Linked DNA regions of Homo sapiens: region 1 is linked to region 2. Evidence: promoter capture Hi-C in 16 types of primary human blood cells and fetal thymus (Javierre and others, 2016). All regions are on one chromosome and are shown on one strand. The core of a region is centred on a gene start or on the middle of the fragment in contact, and the rest is flanking DNA. Distances in the headings are between cores, read along the strand shown. Region 1 holds the start of WIPF2 (WAS/WASL interacting protein family member 2). Region 2 holds the start of CCR7 (C-C motif chemokine receptor 7).

Region 1 (3,232 bases), core at 701-3,200, 350 kb after region 2:
CTGTGGTTCTCTTCTGATTTGTAAAAGGAGAACAGAATAGCCAAAAACATTCAGTAAGACAGTCAAAAACCAAAACCGTAAGGCAAAAATAACAGCATGAAAAAGGACGGGGACCCTGGGAGAGCCCAAAGCAATAACAGATTATTCAAGTCCTTTAAAAAATATGAATTCTGGACAGGCGCAGGGGCTCACGCCTCTAATCCCAGAACTCTGGGAGGCAGAGGCGGGCGGATCACGAGGTCAGGAGATCCAGACCATCCATCCTGGCTAACACAGTGAAACCCCGTCTCTACTAAAAATTCAAAAAAAAATTAGCCAGGTGTGGTGGTGGGCACCTATAGTCCCAGCTACTCGGGAGGCTGAGGCAGAAGAATGGGCGTGAACCCGGGAGGCGGAGCTTGCAGTGAGCCGAGATCGCACCGCTACACTCCAGCCTAGGCCACTGAGCGAGACTCCATCTCAAAAAAAAAAAAAAAACGAATTCTGGGCCAGGCACAGTGGCTCATCCCTGTAATCCCAGCACTTGCGGAGGCCGAGACAGGAGGATCACTTGAGCCCAGGAATTCCAGACTAGCCTGGACAACAGGGCAAGACTCTGTCTCCAACAACAACAACAAAAAAATATATATATATACATATATATATATATATATATATATATATATATATATATATATATACACACACACACGTTAGGCGGGAGTAGTGGTCACACCTGTGGTCCCAGCTATTGGCGGGGCTTAGGTGGAAGGACCACTTCAGCCCGGGAGGTCGAGGCTTTAAGGAGCCATGATCATGCCACTGCACTCCAGCCCGGGCGACAGAGTGAGACCACGTCTCTTAAAAGAAAAAAAAAGAAAAAAGAATTCCATCACATATCAGTTCCTTGCCTCAATGCTATTTTTAAGAACTTTCCTTCCTGATAAAAAACTCGACCATACACACTGCCATGCTGAACACTTTAACATTTCCATCTTGGCCGGGTGCAGTGGCTCACACCTGTAATCCCAGCACTCTGGGAGTCCAAGGTGGGAAGATCGCTTGAGCCCAGGAGTTCAAGACTAGTCTGAGCAACATAGCCAGACCCCACCTTTAAAACAAAAAAAAAAAAATTCCATCTTCCCTCACTTCACACCACTTCAACATGAACCCTCAACTCCAGACGTTCCAATGCGCATCTTAACATTCTCAATCCAACCTTTAACTAAATTCTGATTCCTTTTCAAAGAACGCTCTCAAGATTCCCTCTAGTGTAAGCAGTTTCCCGAGCCATCTTCCCAAACACTAGCTTTCACCTAACTCAATCCCCAAAATGTCACACTGGACTCCTCACCCACAGCATCCTGCTAATTAGCCGTTCCCAACAGGTCCTCCGTTCCCGTCTCCCTTTTTGCGCACGATTACCTCGTTCCTCACAGAGTTGCCGCCTTAACTCACCCAACCCTTCAGGAGCCCTTATTGCCTGTCTCTCAAAAACGTTCCTCCCCATTTTTCCAGTCCCCGCTCGCCCCATACCAATATTCGACCACTCCTCCCCAGATTCCCCACGCCCTCTCTCCTCCAGGTTCTTCCGATACAGTCCCCCGGCCCCCCGCCCCTCAGGCCCCACCCGCAAGACCCCTCTCCCCCTCCGGCCCCTCCTCTAATGCCCCCCTCTCTTCTCAAGCCCCGCCCCGAGCCCCCCTCCCCGCGACTTTCCCTCCCACTCAGGTCCGCAGGTCATTTCAGCGACTGACCCAGCCGCCCCGGCCTCTTTCCGACCTGGCCGCAGCTGCTCTGGGAGCGAATCCTCTGCCGCCTACACTCCGGCTTCGTCCTGTCCTGCTCGCCCCCCGGCAAGCTCTTTCTCGCCGTCGCCGCCGCCGCCGCCGCCGCCGCCGCCGCCACCGCCCCTTTTGCCAACCCGGAAATGGATCTGCTCCCACCGTCCCCAGCGTCCGCGAACAAAATGGAGGCGGGGGAAAAAGGAGGAGAGAGCAGGGAGCGGAGAGATGCGAGACGCATGCGCCCCTGGGAAGCCCGCCCCCTGCCGGCCCACGTAAAGGCGGAAGCGGTTGAGTGGACGCCATCTTAGGAAGGTCACAGGAATTCCGCTTACCAGCTAAAAGCTGGGTTTGCAACTTTAGCTGCAATTGGAATCACCTGGCAAGATTTAAATACTATGATGCCTGGTTCCCACCCCTGGAAATTATAATTTAATTCTGGGGTGCAGCCTAGGCATCAGGAAATTGTTGCAGGTGATTCTAACGTGTTGCCAAGGTGGAGAACCACTGAGCTAAACAGTCATTGTTGAATATACTCCTTTCGTCTTTAATCCGCCGCACACACACACACCCTCCCCCCTAAATATCCTTCCTTAATCTCGAGTTAACGAAGAACCCGCCTCGGCCAACCTTGCAAAGGCCAAGTAGTCAAGCTCCGGTTGTCATGGCAACAGAGGCAGGCCACTGCTCACAAGTCATCATTTACGTCATCTTACCCACCTGACTCGAACACCGTCTCTTCTTTCTCGGGCTGGGGTTTCCTCCAGCTTCCAGGGCTATAGGATGGTGCTGTGGACCCCTCCAGCTGCTTGGGCCAGAGAGAGAAATCCTGTGCCCTCTTTGATGGAGCTGCTGTTAAACCCTGACAGCTGACTAAGTATCTCTCCCTAGTCCACCCAGAAAAGCGCTTTCCATTATAGCTTCAAAATACTCTTGGTTTAATTCCATTCCCAGCACAGAATCCGAAGTAAGGGGGCAAGATTGGGACTTAGTCCCCATTACTTACAAGCTGTGTGCCATTGGGCCTTAGCTACCCTATCTGTAAAATGGGTCTAATAGTGCCTGTCCCGTCTGTCTCATAGAGTTGTTGCAAAGCTGAAATCAGTTAATGAATGGGAAAACGTGATAGAGCATAAGTTGTTATTATTTTTGTTTTCCTTCTATTCTGCCATGAGTAGTACTAGGCACCACCCACTAGTCAAGTAAATGTCACATTGAGTACCTGCTAAACACCAGGAGATGGCTACAGAGGTGACTAAGACAGAGCCTCTGCCCTCAGGGAACTCACTACGTTGGTGGGCAGACTGGCATAAACAGCTAGCTGAGATACAAGTCAGCGTGTGATTAGTGCTGTGGGACGTCAGACAAGGGAGCAATTAATTCCTGCTAAAGAATGGAAGGAGGTTTCCTAAATGGTTTGGAGCTGGGCCTTGAAGGATGAATGGAATTTTATTATTAATCAGAGAAGG
Region 2 (3,676 bases), core at 849-3,348:
ATATGCAACAATTAGCTCAAAATGGATCAGATCTAAATGTTGCAGCTAAAACTATAAAAGTCTTAAAAGAACATATACGAATAAATCTTTGTATACTTGAATTATGCAATGGTTTCTTAGATATGGCACCAAAGACACAATTGACAAAAGAAAAATAAATCAATTGAACCTCCACATTTAAAACTTTGCGCTTCTTTTGCCAGAGATTCAGGTTTTAAAAAACAAAAAGCCTTTGTGCTTCAAAGGACGCTATCAAGAAAGTGAAAAGATGATCCATAGTAAGGGAGAAAATATTTACAGATATGTATCAGATAAGGGATTGTAACCAGAATATATAAAGAAGTCTTACAACTCAATAATAAAAAATAAATAACCCAATTTTTTAAATGGGCAAAGGATTTGAATAGAAATTTCTCAAAAAATAATACAAATGGTCAATAAGAGCATGAAAAGATGCTCAGCATAGGTAGTCATTAGGAAAACGCATATCAAAACTACAAAGAGGCCGGGCATGGTGGCTCATGCCTGCAATCCCAGCACTTTGGGAGGCCGAGGCTGGCAGATCACCTTAGGTTAGGAGTTTGAGACCAGCTTGGCCAACATGGTGAAACCCCGTTTCTACTAAAAATACAAAAATTAGCCAGGCATGGTGGCACGTGCCTGTAGTCCCAGCTACTTGGGAGGCTGAGGCAGGAGAATCACTTGAACCCAGGAGGTGGAGACTGCAGTAAGCCAAGATCGTGCCACTGCACTCCAGCCTGTGCAACAGAGTAAGACTCCATCTCCAAAAAAAAAAAAGAAAAAAGAAAAAAAACACAATGAGATACCACTTTACAGCCACTAGGATGGCTAGAATCAAAAGAATGGACAATAGTAAGTTTTGTTGACAATGTGGAACCCTCACGCATTGTTGATGGGAACAAAATGGTGTAGTCACTTTGGAAAACAGTTTGATAGTTCGTCAAAATGTTAAATATATAATTACCATATGACTCAACAATTTCACTTCTAGGTATATACCCAAGAGAAATAAAGCATATGTCCACACAAACACTTGCACATAAATATTTATAGCAGCATCATTCATAATAGCTAAAAGGGAAAACAGCCCAAACATCCAACTGATGACAGACAAACAAAATGTGGCATATCCATACAATGGAATGTTATTCAGCCATAAAAAGGAATGGGGAATGGATCCATACCACCACATAGGTAACCTTGAAAACACTAACTGAAAGAAGCCAGATGTGAAGGTCACATATTGATACTTCTATTTATGTGAAATGTTCAGAATAGGAAAATCTATAGAGCCAGAAAGTAGATTTGTGGTTGCCAGGGGCTTTCGATGACAGGAGGGGAGGGGAGCAGTCATTGCTAGTGATTACAGGGTTCTTGAGAGGGAGTGAGAAAAAATGTTCTAAAATGTATTGTGGTGATGGTTGCATAACTCTGTGAACATACAAAAACCATTGAATTCTATACTTTAAAAAGGTAAATTTTATGGGATGTGGATTATAGCTCAATAAAGCTGTCATTAAGAAAGGAAAAGGAAGGGAGGGGAGAAGAGGGAAAGGGGAGGGAGGGGAGGGGAGGGGAAGGGGGGAGAAAAAAGATACATCGTGGCATATCTCTTCCCTTTTACCTGTCATTATGTGTCAGTGCCTCCCATTGGCCTAAACTACCCAGAAGCCAGAGGGAAAGCCATTTGGGACTATATTCCACTGTGACACTGAGCAGAGCAAGGGAAGGATGGGGACACTTCTCTCACACATCTCTGACTCCCCAACATCTAACCCATGGCCTGGCATGTGATATTCATGCTATAAATATTTGTTGAATCAGTAAATGGCCCCTCATCTAGATTCTGCCAGGCAGCGCAGGGGGCTTTTTGAATGTAAATGACCTAATGATTCAGGATCCTATGACCAGCGACTGTCACCCTCTGTCACCTTTCTTCTGCCCCTTTATCTCTGAAGGCATTGAAGGGGCCCTGCATGAGTCAGGGAGGGCTGGGGGGAGGAGCAAGGGTGGGAGGGGCAGGGAAGAGGGTGGCTTCTCCGACAACTTAAAAGGGGCTTGAACCACTTCCTCCCCAGACAGGGGTAGTGCGAGGCCGGGCACAGCCTTCCTGTGTGGTTTTACCGCCCAGAGAGCGTCATGGACCTGGGTGAGTGAGCCTCTTCATGTGAGAAGGAACAGTACCAGGGTCTTGGACACCCAGACTGACCCTGTGGAATGGGGGTGGAGGATGCGGGTGGAGCGCATAGGGGTGCTTCCTGGAGAAATCAGTTCTGATTTGGTGGGCATTGGAAGCTACTTCCAGAGAATGCCCCCTGCTGTCCCAGGAGGGGTGCACCTGCCCTTTCAGACCTGGAGAAGGGGTCAGCCTTTGGTGCCAGTGGGGACAAGGGAGGGGCCGAGATCATGTCTTTCTAAAACAGCAGGGACATAAGAGAGTGGCGGGGCTGGGCTTGGTGGTCTGGCAGAACCTGTTCTCATCATGAGGGTGATAGGTTAGGCCCTCTGGGACCTCTGGGGACAGGTTTCAACAGAGAAATTCTCCCTAGAGAGCTTAGGACCTTTTACCCACTCTCTGATTCCCACCTTTCTCCCCTGCCAAATATTCATATACCTGTCCACTTGGGGTCATGAGGAGATGCAAATGAAACGTGACTGGGTTGTGAGAATGGTGCGGTGCATTGCAAATGCAAGCTCTGGTTGCTTTCTCTCTGCTGCACATCCCACCTGCTTTGATCTGGCTTTGCTGTTGCCTCTTGCAAGTTAAGGAACGGGCAGGCAACATGGAATGGGATGGCAAGGGGCACTCAGCTTGGAGAAATCATAGCCAGGCCTTCAGCACAGCCCCTGCCCCTGAGCAAACCTCACGCACTCTGCCCCGGCAGATAACTCTACTCTTTAGAAAGCCCTTTCTCAGGTCTAACCTAGAAGGGGTCAAGGGGAAGCACTGAGGGTGTTCTGAGTGGTTCATCCAGCTCCAGACGCCCCCTTTATAAATCTCAGCTGTGGAGTCAGACCAGGCTGAGGCTAAGAAGACCAGGTTCCTAGATGGCTTGTCTCACCAGCAAACAATGCACCACGGCGGCCTCAAAGCCGCAAAGGGTTGGCTTTAAAAAGTGAAGGTTCCCTGGTGCTGTCCTCACACCCCTCCTCGCCACACCACAGCCTCCTTGATTTCATCTCTTACTTTCCCGCCTGCCCTGAACGCTGGATCTGGACCCAGCAAACAGCTGTGAAAGGGTTAAAGTGGTCACCCCACCCACTGACTGTGAACTCCTGAAAGGCAGGTTCAGGTGCTTTGAGGATGTGAGGAGAAAATGTCTGCGGAATGAATGAATACACCGTATCAAGAACTCCGTAGAGTTTAGTTTTTGAAAATCTCTTCCAAATGCCTCATTTCCCAGCCAATCTACCCTTAAATCCCACTCCCCTGCACCCCCTCCACCACCCCCCATCACAATCCCACAGTACAGACGTCACCCACAGAAGACCCTGCTCCAGCCTTTCATACTGGCCTCCAGGAAGGAAACCAAGCAGTGCCCAGTGGTGTGCTACTGGGCATTTGAAAAGCAGCTCCCCGGGGTGGAGCACTGGTAGCTGACTCCAGGGTGGAGGGAAAGTCCTGAATTTGTAGTGCTTGCCAATTTCCATGGTG

Evidence for each region. The method cuts DNA at HindIII sites, captures the fragments that hold promoters and counts their contacts. A CHiCAGO score of 5 or more calls a contact.
Region 1: the fragment with the promoter of WIPF2 here is called in contact with the fragment with the promoter of CCR7 in region 2 in 1 of 17 cell types (neutrophils); the score reaches 5.4 in neutrophils.

The regions. Positions count from the first base shown.
Region 1 is chr17:40,218,022-40,221,253 of GRCh38, reverse strand. WIPF2 (WAS/WASL interacting protein family member 2) reads right to left here and starts at 1,950. Exons shown (of 8, transcript NM_133264.5): 1 at 1,762-1,950. RefSeq lists enhancers at 1,331-2,109, 2,010-2,119, 2,560-2,609. The HindIII fragment of the contact is 14,072 bases long and covers 1-3,232 here.
Region 2 is chr17:40,563,894-40,567,569 of GRCh38, reverse strand. CCR7 (C-C motif chemokine receptor 7) reads left to right here and starts at 2,098. Exons shown (of 3, transcript NM_001838.4): 1 at 2,098-2,170. The coding sequence starts at 2,161. RefSeq lists an enhancer at 2,543-3,459. The HindIII fragment of the contact is 7,070 bases long and covers 1-3,676 here.